Regions from separate parts of the Homo sapiens genome. Here region 2 is linked to region 1. Evidence: promoter capture Hi-C in human tissues and cell types (Jung and others, 2019). All regions are on one chromosome and are shown on one strand. Each heading gives the region's core, a stretch centred on a gene start or on the middle of the fragment in contact. The rest is flanking DNA. Distances are from core to core; before and after follow the strand shown.

Region 1 (6,625 bases), core at 2,927-5,426:
TTCACTTGAGACTGATGTATCCAACTGGAGATGCCAGAAATGTTGATAGCTGTTGGGGTGGAAAGTAAGACAGTAAAGGGGTCTTTCCATAAGGGAGTTGAGACCCAGATGACCCATCTCTCCAGGTTTTTTGACCCTGGTTGGTATAATGGGTGTTGATTCCTGAAAGGGTCAAGAGCAGGCAGTACCTTTTGTCCAAACTCCTGAATGGCTTGTATTTTTTTTTTTTTTTTTTTTTTTGAGATGGAATTTTGCTCTTGTCGCCCAGGCTGGAGTGCAATGGCGGGATCTCGGCTCACCGCAACCTCCGCCTCCCAGGTTCAAGTGATTCACCTGCCTAAGCCTCCCGAGTAGCTGGGATTACAGGCATGTACCAGCATGCCCAGCTAATTTTGTATTTTTAGTAGACAAGGTTTCTCCACATTGGTCAGGCTGGTCTTGAACTCCTGACCTCAGATGATCTACCTGCTTCAGCCTCTCAAAGTACTGGGATTACAGGCATGAGCCACTGTGGCTGGCCTTTTTTTTGTTTGTTTTTTTGAGATGTAGTATTGCTCTTGTCTCCCAGGCTGGAGTGCAATGGTGCGATCTCAGCTCACTGCAACCTCCGCCTCCTGGGGTTCAAGTGATTCTCCTGCCTCAGCCTCTCGAGTAGCTGAGATTACAGGTGACCGCCACCATGCCCGGCTAATTTTTTTGTATTTTTAGTAGAGATGGGGTTTCACCATGTTGGCCAGGCTGGTCTCAAACTCCTGACCAGCCTGGTCACCTGGCCACCTGGTTACCTGACAGGTGATCAGCCCACCTTGGCCTCCCAAAGTGCTAGGATTACAGGCGTGAGCCACCGCCCTTGGCTGTTTCCTTTCCTTTTCTTTTTCTTTTGAGCCCGTTTTGCAGCCTTTACAAAAATCAGGGTTTTCCCACGAGATCATGAAGATTTTCACATAAGGGACTTCTGACCATTTGTGTTGGTGTTGGCAGTAAAGGTCAAGCTGGAATATGGTATTAACATTTAAGCTCCCCACCTTTGACCAAACTATATTGCAAAGGAAAATCAGTCTCTTGTTTTACAATCTGGGGATCAACCTTTTCCCAGATTCCAAGGGGATCCAGGAGGGGAATCCTGGGATATAAAGATCTGATTACCCATCTGAAAGACAAGACAAGAGAGAATGCAGGATAGAGGAAGTGTCCCTTTACCTATTTGGTGACTCATGAAGGTCAGGCATTCCAATCCTTGACCTAAATGAGGTGTCTCATGCCTCTCCCTGCAAGGGTGAAGTGTCCTTCACCTTGGAGCTCTGGAATTAGCCCTACTGTGTGCTCTGCTGTTTGCATTTCTTCCTATTGTTTTGCTCAGAAGGATTTCTTAGATTTCCTGGGATTGATGCCCAGCAGTGATGCCTTCCACTCTTCCGTGTTGGGTAAGGACGGGTGGAAGAATGTCTGCCATGAGAGTAGTTCTCTTCTCTTCTCTCATGTTCCCAGTGACCTTGGTTCTGCAGGAAGCCCAGTAGTTGTGCCCCTGCTGAATTCTGCAGAGAAGGGACTTCTAAAGTCCTTTTTTTTGAGACAGTTTCTCTCTTGTTGCCCAGGCTGGAGTGCAGTGGCGCTATCTTGGCTCACGGTAACCTCCGCCTCCTGGGTTCAAGCGATTCTTCTGCCTCAGCCTCCTGAGTAGCTGGGATTACTGGTGTCCACCACCATGCCCAGCTATTTTTGTATTTTTAGTAGAGACGGGGTTTCTTTTTTTTTTTGACATGGAGTCTCACTTTGTCACCCAGGCTGGAGTGCAGTGGCACGATCTCAGCTCACTGCAACCTCTGTGTCCAGGGTTCAAGAGATTCTTCTGCCTCAGCCGCCTGAATAGCTGGGATAACAGATCCATGCCACCAGGCCCGGCTAATTTTTTAGTAGAGACAGGGTTCCACCATATTGGCCAGGCTGGTCTCAAACTCCCGACCTCGTGATCTGCCCGCCTCAGCCTCCCAAAGTGCTGGGATTATAGGCATCAGCCACCGTGCCCAGCCGATACGGGGTTTCTCCATGTTGATCAGGCTGGTCTCGAACTCACAACCTCGGGTGACACGCCCGCCTTGGCCTCCGAAAGTGCTGGGATTACAAACGTGAGCCAATGCGCCCAGCCTAGGTCTTCTTAATACATAATGATATTGGGCTAATACTAATGATTACAGGAACGGAAAAGATGTGATATCTTCCCCCACTCTTAAAAGGTTCCTTGGGGTTTATACAGAAAAAAATGCTTGAAAAGCATAGAAGACCCCCTGGGGCTCAGAGTTAGTGAACTGGGCTGTTGATTCTGGTTTTTTAGTCCATTATATGATCACATAAACAGCAAGGGGAATGTGAGAAGCATTTTCTATCAGCTTATTCAACAAAAAGCAAAAAGGACCTGAGTACTTCACGGGTCTGTTACAATGGCCTAATGAGGTGGAGAAAGCAGTCTCCTGTGGCCCATTGGAAACCCTGGTTGTACAGAGAAACTAGGGAGTAAGGAAGTGGTCACAGGTGACCCTCTGGAAGAGCCAGGCAGTTCCATTGAGGAGTCACAGAATGAGGCATTCTTGAAGAGTAGGCAGGCGGAGAAGGACCCAATAATAAGTGAGGGATTTCTTTCTTTCTTTTTTTTTTTCAGACAGAGTTTCGCTCTTGTTGCCCAGGCTGGAGTGCAATGGTGCGATCTCGGCCCACTGCAATGGCCAGCTCCCGGGTTCAAGCGATTCTCCTGCCTCAGCCTCCCAAGTAGCTGGGATTACAAGCGTGTGCCACCACGCCCGGCTAATTTTTGTATATTTAGTAGAGATGGGGTTTCACCATGTTGGCCAGGCTGGTCTTGAACTCCTGCCCTCAGGTGATCCACCCCCCTCAACCTCTCAGAGTGCTGAGATTACAGGCATGAGCCACCGTGCCCGGCCAAAATGAGGGATTTCTTTAAGCAGGCATCCTCCCAGTGCCGGTCCCTCCAGTGAAACAGGAGGCAAGGGAAAGGACAAAGCTGAGTCTCATTTCTGAGGAAAAAAGTATAAACATCAGCATAGGCCCTCAAAGGACTCTGGCGCCTGAGTGAAGCAAACGCAGCAGGTCCTGGATAAACAGGCCCTGCAAGAGGCTTGCACCCGCAGGAAGAATTCATGAAATCCCTGCGGCGAGGAGAGGGACAGCAAAGAGTAAGCAGAGTGACCTGGGAGATTAATCAACGGTGGGGGCATATGGTGTTCAGGGGAGTGAACGGCCATGAATGGCAAGTATAAGAGCTGACTTAACACCGGATTGTAGTTTTAATTAAAAGATATGCGCCGGTCGCAGTGGCTCACGCCCGTAATCCCAGCAGTTTGGGAGGCCGAGGTGGGCGGATCACGAGGTCAGGAGTTCGAGACCAGCCTGGCCAATATGGTGAAACTCTGTCTCTACTAAAAATACAAAAATTAGCCGGGCATGGTGGCACACGCCTGTAGTCCCTGCTACTCGGGAGGCTGAGGCAGAAGAATCGCTTGAACCCGGGAGGTGGAGGTTGCAGTGAGCCGAGATCACACCACTGCGCTCCAGCCTGGGCGACAGAGTGAGACTCTGTCCTCCCCCCCACAAAAAAAAATATGAAGCTCCCCAGTCACTGCACAGCCAGGCGTATTCCCTGCCACCTTCACAAGCCTCCTGCAAGAAGGGTCACCATGTGTCTCAGATCTACTCACTGTGGAGTTTAAATCCTCCCTCCTCTGCTTATCACCCCTCAGGGTGAGCTGAGAAATCAGCCAGAGGGAGCAGAGTGACAGTGGCTGAAGGGAAATGGTACTGGGCAGTCGTTAGTGAACAGAGCCTGAGAGGAAAAACCCCTCCCCTTAAAGCTGCCAGATCTGCATTAGGGCAGGAGGTTCTTCAGTGCAGAAAGAAGCAGAGGTCGTCAACCAGAGAATCTGGCACCAGCTTTTTGGTACTTACCTGGATAACCAGGCGAGGTAACCAGGTAACCAGGTGAAAACACCAGATGTTACCCAGAGGGGTGTGGAAGTCCTCTGGTTCTTGGTCTTCTTGGATTCAGTCAAGAGATGCGCAGAAAGAGTTAAAGGGTAAATGCCCTTCATTTAAAGAGACAGGAGCTCAGAAAGAAGCGACACCCTGAACGACAGAACCGAGTGGGCTCCTGAAAAGAAGGAGTCTGTCCTTACTTATGCTGGCCTGACCCTTTTAATGAGAACCTGACATGATTATTCATGAAGGGGCCGTGCACAGCCATTATTAGTAAGCATGTTCTGGGAAGTCATTTGGGCAGGAATGTGCTGTGACTGTCCATGCACACATCACATATCTCCTTAGCATCTCAAATCTCCACCCAGGGGTGTGGCTTTTTTTTTTTTTTTTTTGAGACGGAGTCTCACTCTGTCGCCCAGGCTGGAGTGCGGTGGCGCTATCTCGGCTCACTGCAAGCTCCGCCTCCCGGGTTCACGCCATTCTCCTGCCTCAGCCTCCTGAGTAGCTGGGACCACAGGTGCCTGCCACCACGCCCAGCTAATTTTTTTTTTGTATTTTTAGTAGAGACGGGATTTCACCGTGTTAGCCAGGATGGTCTGGATCTCCTGACCTCGTGATCCACCTGCCTCGGCCTCCCAAAGTGCTGGGATTACAGGCATGAGCCACCGCACCCAGCCCTTATTTATTTTTTTCTAAAATCATATTTGAAAAAAGGGGATGTGTTTCTTAGTATTATAATGAGCAAAAGGCCATTCTAGGATGAATTATTAGAGGAGTGTGCACGCTCCTTAATAGGGAAAATCCCCTAGCTGGGTTATTTCTGGCTAGGGCCAGATAACTCCCTTCCTGGGCCAGACAAGTCCAGCCACAAGGACAGGTGTAGGCAATGTAGCCACTGTCCTGCTTTTGCTGTCAAAAGGGGATTGTCAGTGGGCTGTGTTTCTTAAGATTCCTTTCCCAGGGGCTCCTTTAACTGCTCATGCCTGGCTACCTACCTACTCCAAGCTGGTTTGTGGACAGAAATACTTTATTTATTTATTTTTTGTAAAGGTGTCTCACTCTGTCACCCAGGCTGGAGTGCAGTGGCGTGATCTCGGCTCACTGCAACCTCCAGCTCCCTGGTTCAAGCGATTCTCCTGCCTCACCCTCCCGAGTAGCTGGGATTATAGCCACATGCCACCACGCCCAGCTAGTTTTTGTATTTTTAGTAGAGATGGGGTTTCACCACTTTGGCCAGGATGGCCTTGATCTCCTGACCTCATGATCTGCCTGCCTCAGCCTCCTAAAGTGATGGGATTACAGGCATGAGCCACTGAGCCTGGCGCTAGAAAGACTTTTAAAGTAGTATCTAGTTCATCCACATTTGTATGTTTCTTCTATTCAATCTGAATGCAAATTTACCTGAAGGTTTTCCCCTGAGATCACAGAGAACAACTTTCTTCACCTTAATTTTATTTTCAGCTGGGCATGGTGGTGCACACCTGTAATCCCAACACACTGGGAGGCTGACACAGGCGGATCACTTGAGTTCAGAAGTTTGGGACCAGCCTGGGCAACGTGACAAAACCCTATGTCTACAAAAAATACAAAAAAATTAGCTGGGCATAGTGTCGTGACCCTCTAGTCCCAGCTATTGAGGAGGCTGAGCTGGGAGGATGGCTTGAGCCCAGGAGGTGGAGGGTACAGTGAGCTGTGATCATGCCACTGCACTCCAGCCTAGGGGACAGAGTGAGACCCTGTCTCAAAAACAAACAAAAAACAAAAAAACCCAATCAACATAAGTTTATTCTCATTAGGTTATTTCTCTGATCACAAGAGAAAATGTCTCTGAATTACCTTCCTTTGTCAGGGCTCAGCTGGTACCAAAAAGGATGTCAAGAAAATTTAGATTGAGGTCGGGCGCATGCCTGTAATCCCAGCACTTTGGGAGGCCAATGTGGGTGGATCACGAGGTCAGGAGATCGAGACCATCCTGGCTAACACGGTGAAACCCTGTCTCTACTAAATATACAAAAAATTAGCCGGGCGAGGTGGCAGGCGCCTGTAGTCCCAGCTACTCGGGAGGCTGAGGCAGGAGAATGGCGTGAACCTGGGAGGCGGAGCTTGCAGTGAGCCGAGATCGCGCCACTGCACTCCAGCCTGGGCAATGCAGCAAGACTCTGTCTCAAAAAAAAAAAAAAGAAAATTTAGATTAATATGAGAATGTGACATGGATCTGACATATAAATTAGTGTTTTTATTGTCAAATTGTGACCAAATAATTCATGAAGCTGTGAGAATATGTTTTCCCATGATCAGCAGAAAAATGTATAAGGGAACACTATTTTTCTTAATATGACCCTAGCTTTCTGCTTAATTCGACAGTTACAGAGACCCTTGAAGTTAGAAATGTAGAGCCATATCTTCCAACAAGAACTGATCAGTGTCTTGCATGTGATCGAAATGAATACCACACAGCCGAAATGCACATTGAGGACCCTTCAATGTCATTCAAAAACTGAGGTAAGGAGCAAAGTTTGCTATTGTTCTTATTACTTTTAGTTCTGTTTTTCAAGTAGAACACATGTATTTATTATTTTTTAAAATCTTTGTTTGGGCCGGGCGTGGTGGCTCACGCCTGTAATCCCAGCACTTTGGG
Region 2 (6,625 bases), core at 1,270-3,769, 52 kb before region 1:
CTCCTCTTACCCTATGTCCCCAAATCATCACAGCTCTGTCCCTTTCTTCTCCTTCGGGTCTAGCCTCAGAGCTGTCTTCCACCCTCTTGCACCCCCATCTGAAATTCTCTCTGCCTGTCAGTCTCTACCACGTTACTCAGGTTTCACTGTCTCCGCATCCATCACCACATCGGACACTCTTCTGCATGGATTATTTTGAGTGTTTTGTGTCTCCATCTTGGCCACGGGACGACTGCAGCACCTGCTCTGGGGTTGTGGTTCAGATGCTGGGGCTGGGGTCGGGCTGAGGAGTCCTCAGGGAAGACCAAAAGGATAGGGCGGGTAGTGAGGATGGTCTCATATTCTGGAAATTTCATCCGTAATTGGTCTAAACTTCCTGTGGCTATTTATTCCAGTCTATGTAAGAGCAGAAGGCCTCACTGAGGCCTGAAAAGCCCCGCAGACCCTGTGTCCTCAGCCAGTGCCGAGGCGTCCCCACCGCCTTACTCCAGCTCCCGGGTCTTCCGCGCTCTACACATCACCGGGGCCCGGTGGCCATCCTGGGCAGGGGCTTTGCCTTCCAGCAGGTGATGCGCTCGCAGTCAGGGGTCCTGGATTCCCTTCAGGAAGGGTGGCGAGAAGTTCAGAAGCTAAGTGGGCCATGAAGGAGGCACTCCCTAAACAGCGGGGGAATTTTGCAGGGGACTGTGAGTGGAGAGACAAGGGGACAATGGCAGCCTCCCTCATGAGATCTGGGGCCTCTCTTTTTCTTGGACATCCTCCGCCAGCTCAATCCGGCCAATCTTCACCTGCCTTTAAACTGGATTCCATGGTGTCCCCAAATTGGGGGCAATTCCTTCCAGCATGGCCAACTTCTAGAATCTAGACTTGAGGCCCACTGTCCTGCAGATAGCAGTTTGTGTCCATTCCTGCCGCATCGCTTGTGTCCAGAGGCCTTTCAATCCAGTGTGCTTCTCAGGCTGGAAGAGAAGTAGAAAAATGGGGACAGGTGAAGAAGTCCTTAGAGGTGTGGAGTGAGGCGTGGAAGCAATGCTGAGCCTCTAGAGGAGCTGGATGAATGCTGCATGCACCTGGCCCACAGGTGACTGTGGGCTCACGGGATGTGTGGCACACTTGGAAAGAAGTCTCAGGTCTGGCTGTAGCACCTGGAAGTGGGTTTTGGGGTGGTTGTGGGGCTGCAGGATCATTTTGTAATGCCCTGATGTCTCAGCTCAGGTTACCTGGGAAACAGATGCTGACACAGAGATTTGCATGCAGGAATTTAATTCGGAAACTCATCATCACAGTGAAGAGGACTGAAGGCAGTGGAATCAGGCAGAGAAAAACATCCCGAAGTGTACTTAGAACCAAGACCTAAGCTGAGCCCAGAGGGAGCTTCAGCAGCAGGAGGATGGGCGCCTTGGCCTGAGGGTGTGGATCCCAGAGCTGCTCCACAGCATCCGCTCCACGGGGTGATTTCTGTGGAGGCTTTGGGAAGTGCAAAAACCATCCTGAAACCCATAGAGGAAAGATAGGAAGAATCTCAGAGATTATTTTCTGGGTTGCCTTTGGCATTCGGGGTATTTTCAGTTGCAGATCAATAAGCTTTCAGTTGTGTTTTGGAAGATGAAATGATCATTTGGAGTGTTTCCTTTCCTGATGTTGGGGTCTAATTGCATCATTAGAGACATCTCTGTTTTATTGGTAGGTTTCAGTGGTATTCCCCTGTGGGGTGGAGTCACTATGAGTGGAAATACGTTGCCCTGGGTCAGTGAGTTCCTGGGGTGTTTGTGTATATTATTCCATGAGTTACTGGGGCTTGTGAGATTTCATAACAGGGCTTCTGGATCTTTATGAAGTATCTGGGGATTGTGGGATCTTTATGAAGTATATGGGGAGTGTGGGAGTTTGTAAGCGTGTCTGAGTCCAGAGGGCAACGGGGATCCTAAGAATCAGGCGCAGATGGCTTTCATTAGGGAGGGTTTGTTGTGGGGGCGTCTGTGGGTGCAACTCAAGAGGGAGTGATTATCAGGGTCCCAGAGTAAGGGAAAGATTTCTCCAAGAATCAGAGTGAAACACAGCACACTGACCTGCGGCCCAAAGGCTTCCACTGGGACTGTCCTTGGGAAGATAAAGCTGCCACATTCTTGCAGCCAGGCCGGTGGCCTCTCCCTGTTTATTCCAAGATAACAGAGTCACAGAGTCACAAGGCAGCTGGGGAGCTGAGGGGCAAGGTCCTTGAAACCCGCTGTGGAACATGGACCTTTCTCCAGTGCAGAGGGGCCACGGGGCCCTGGGAAGGGAGTTGGAGGGTTACAGCCCTGGTCATGGCAGGGAGACGCAGGAACTGGAGGCAGGAAGAGCTGTGTTCATCCCCACAGGGTGCCCCTCCGCTCAGGAATTTGTGCAATAGAATGGGGTGAGCTAATGGGGTCACATTTAGGGAAAGGAGTCTTTCTGTCCACCCAACACACATCTCATCCTATGCACACGCTTCTCCCTTTCCCCGTTGTCCTCTCTATGATGGGAAACTAATGCTTCCCCAGGCGGGTGATTGAGGGAGAGGACGGGTTGGTCTGTTTGTCTCTCTCCTTTCTCCCCTCCCTCAGGTCTCCTGCCTGCCTTTCTGCTGCTCTGTTCAGACTCTCACTTCCTGCAGTTCTGCAGTCAGTTTGCCCCACGCAAGACCCAAGGATCTGGGTCTGTGAATAATATTCAAGCCAACATCATTGCCAAGTGAGAAATCTTAGACCCCAGGACCTTTTTTCCATGGAGGGGCCTGGGCACAGAGACAAACTCTTCTTTTTGCAGAATTTAGGGTCTTTTATTGGCCACGTGGGTCTGCTGAGCCTCAGACAGGGATCCCATAGTCAGCCAGATGTGTTTCTGGGTGGACTTGCGCTTGCCCTTCCACAGGTTGGTAAGCAGAGTGGTCTCCATGAAGGGCCCTTGGCTCTGCCCCTCAGTTAGTCCTGCTCAGCTCCCTTCTCACGAAAAAGACCACCCCAAGGACAAACATGCAGTCCACCCCTGCATACATCAGTCTCCCAAAGTGAAGACCATAAAAATGGCCTAATATTTCATTCATTCATTCAGTTATTTATTTATTTTGAGACGGAGTCTCGTTCTGTCTCCCAGGCTGGAGTGCAGTGGTGCGATCTCAGCTCACTGCAACCTCTGTCTCCTGAGTTCAAGCAATTCTCCTGCCTCACCCTCTGGAGTAGCTGGGACTACAGGCATGTGCCACCACTCCTGGGTCATTTTTTTGTATTTTTAGTAGAGACAGGGTTTTACCATGTTGGTCAGCTGGTCTTGAACTCCTGACTTCATATGATCTGCCCACCTCGGCCTCCCAAAGTGCTGGGATTACAAGCATAAGTCACCGCACCTGACCATATATCATTTCCTTTTAATTATTTACTTATTTAATTTTTACTACACTCCCATTTTAGCAATACTAATATTTCATTTAATGTTGCTATTATTATTTACTGTTATTGAGACAGAAGCTTTGTGTTAGACGCTGATCTCATGTAACGTGACTCTTTTATAATTGTGCTTAGGATTCCACGGGAGATGAGTGAATAAACGACTGAACATTGTGCATAAACAGACAATTTATATATTCATAAGATTAAGACATTTTGTATTCCTCATCCGTTATGCAAAGCAAAGACTAGACACTCTGGAGTCATCTCTCATGAGAACAAACCTGCGGACAGCTGGGAAGCACACCAGCCACCAACTGGGAGTATTAAAAAGAGCAATCCAGTCTCCAAATCAAGGGGAGGGTTCAAATCATAGACAAGCTGCAGAGCCACCGGGTCTCAGAGTTTCCCGCGGAAACGCTGGGACTCGCTACCAATCCCATGAGCGCACCTGGGGATTTTAACGTCTGGTGGGATGGTGGATTCCGAGTGTGGTTGGACAGGGCTGGAGTGCCCTGAAAGGCCTGAATGCTCTCCTGCCGGTGAGAAAACTGGAAGCGGATTCTGGGAGGGAGCTGTCGCCAGCGAGAGGCGGGTCTTGGATAGTGGGGAGAGGCCAGGTGGGGAGGGTGGAAGCCACCGTGAGGTGGGGTCTGGGCAATGGGAAAGGGGTGCAAGAGGGTCGTGTGGGAGGGTGGAACTGCTGTGGGCGGGGCCTGGGCAGTGGGGAGGGGGCGGGGTGAGGAGGGTGAAAGTCGCCCTGGGGTGCGGTCTGGGCAATGGGAAAGGGGTGGAAGAGGGTGGGGTGGGAGGGTGGGACTACCGTGGGGGCGGGGCCTGGGCAGTGGGGAAGGGGTGGGGTGAGAAGGGTAAAAGTCGCCCTGGGCTGGGGTCTGGGCAACGGGAAAGGGCTGGAAGAGGGCGGCGGGATGGGAGGGTGGAAGCTGCTATGGTGCAGCCTGGGCTGTGGGAAGCGGGCAGGGCCGGGAAAGGAGCGGGCCTGGGCTCTCTACTCCTCTTGGCCCCAGGTCATTTTCTGCTATGTCAGCCTTTCTCTCCACTAGGACTGGATCAACAGCATTGCACTGCTAAAATAAAGTTTCAGCTAATTGAAATTAGCCGGGGATGCTTCCTGCTTATTTTCAGTTAATAAGCAGGGATGCTTCCGGCTTATTTTCAGTCCAGGGACGCTTCCTGCTTATTTTCAGTTAATCCAACATTTCAAACAATTTAAGGCAAAAGAACAGAATGGTACTGGGCCACTTAATTGAAGGCTAAGGTTTTTTTACTCTTACATTGAAAACGATTTAAGTGAAAAACTCATTTTGTTTGCAGGTGGAGACAGGCATCCTACCATTAAGAGGATCACAACTCATCTTAGCTCAGGGTACCAGGAGGGGTGCAGGGGCATCAGCGGATGGTCCCTGTGGGGCAGTGGTTTCATCCTGGAACTGGCAATTAGAACCGTTTAATTAATCCGGGACCTGATTTGTCTGTTTAGAGGATGAAACGAAGGTGAAATTTCTACTTGTGCTGTGTTCAGTTTCATAGTGACAACGATCGGAACATCGTTTCCATTTCTATTTGCCAGGCACCGGGATGGAAGAAAGAGAACTCTGGGCTTAGGTCCAGGGGCGTTTCAAGGACCCTGGACCAGGGTGTGTGGAGGAACGGTATCTGGTAATTTAGGTCGCCAACCATTCCCTTAAACATAAAGAATACTTTTTAAAATAGAGGAATTATAGGGAAAATCTCAGAGATAAATTTCTGGGTTACCTTTGGTATTTTGGAGTATTTTGTGTTGTAGATCAAGAAGCTTTCGGATGCATTTTGGAAGATAAAATAGTTTGGAGTGTTACCTTGTATGATATCGGGGTCTCATTGGAGCATGTGCATCACTAATGCCTTGTTTCCTTATCTTTCAATTGTTGATCTATTACACAATTGTAAGGGAATTTTAAATGTATATGGCTTTGAAATGAAGTTGGTGCATCTCATTTTTTCAATTAGCTGAAATTTTCCTTTAGCAGTTAATGATGTCTCTTATGTGTGACAGGAACATTCAGTACACCCACAGTGAAGGCTGAGTGCCCTTCAAAGCTTTTTTCTTCTGTTTTTTGTTTTTTGAGACAGGCTCTGTCACCCAGGCTGGAGTGGTGCGATCATAGCTCACTGCAATCTCACACTCACTTCAGCCTCCTGAATAGCTGGGACTATAGACATGCACCACCACACCTGGATAATTTCTAAATTTTTTTGTATAGATGGGGTCTTACTATGTTGCCCAGGCTGGATTCAGTGCCGAGTCTCAAAGGCCAAGGTACCAGGGCAAGTTCATTAGTTTTGAGTTTCACTTGGTGTTATGTGTTGACAATGTAGAAGCCGATTTTGACCCTGTAATCCTAGCAGATAGCAAAGGTTAAGCCTCCCCCTTCCATCCTTTCTTCTTTTTTTTTGTTTTTTTAGATGGAGTCCTGCTCTGTTGCCCAGGCTGGAGTGCAGTGGCACGATCTTGGCTCATTGCAGCCTCTGCCTCCCAGGTTCAAGTGATTCTCCTGCCTCAGCCTCCCTAGTAACTGGGATAACAGGCGCTGCCACCGCGCCTGGCTAATTTTTGTATTTTTAGTAGAGACAACGTTTCACCATGTTGGCCAGGCTTGTTTTGAACTCCTGACCTCAGGTGATCCACCTGCCTCGGCCTCCCAAAGTGAAGTGCTGGGATTACAGGCATGAACCACCGTGCCCGGCCAGAAATATCCTTTTTAAATCTCTTGTGAATATGTTGATTTTGCTTCAATGAAAATGTATAAGCATTTAAACTCTGCATATACAAAATGGATTCATGGCTTTCATCTATAATCAGATTCACCCCTACTATTCTCAATTTAATGAAAAGATCCAAAATCAAATCATTTCTTTGCTTGGGATCATGGAAGTCCATGCTGAAACTGCTTTCTTGTCAACATAGGTACTTAGCAATATTGCGTAACACAGAGCAGTCTACCTTGCAAAAGTCCCCAAATCTATCCCAGACACCATATCTTTTGAAACTGTAGATGTAGTTGTGAAATATGCTATTTTTCCTGTCTAAACAATTGTATTTTCAATTAATCACCACTTTTCCATTGATGAAATCTTCCACATGTGGGGATGTGAGAGGCAAACATACTTCAAAGTAGAGGTAAATTCACAGATGTTGCCATAAAATTATTGCTAGT

The links. The method cuts DNA at HindIII sites, captures the fragments that hold promoters and counts their contacts. A contact is called where the count stands out against the background at its distance.
Region 2: a fragment that was not itself captured here is called in contact with the fragment with the promoter of ERVV-2 in region 1 in 1 of the 25 tissues and cell types used here (lymphoblastoid cells).

What each region holds. Positions count from the first base shown.
Region 1 is chr19:53,042,291-53,048,915 of GRCh38, reverse strand. It overlaps ERVV-2 (endogenous retrovirus group V member 2, envelope), which reads right to left and starts at 4,176. Exons shown (of 2, transcript NM_001191055.2): 1 at 3,958-4,176; 2 at 1-49. The HindIII fragment of the contact is 12,011 bases long and covers 1-6,625 here.
Region 2 is chr19:53,092,684-53,099,308 of GRCh38, reverse strand. All of the region lies in intron 1 of ZNF160 (zinc finger protein 160), which reads left to right. Among named protein-coding and RNA genes, the nearest start is that of ZNF160, 7.4 kb to the left of the region's middle. The HindIII fragment of the contact is 5,693 bases long and covers 1-5,365 here.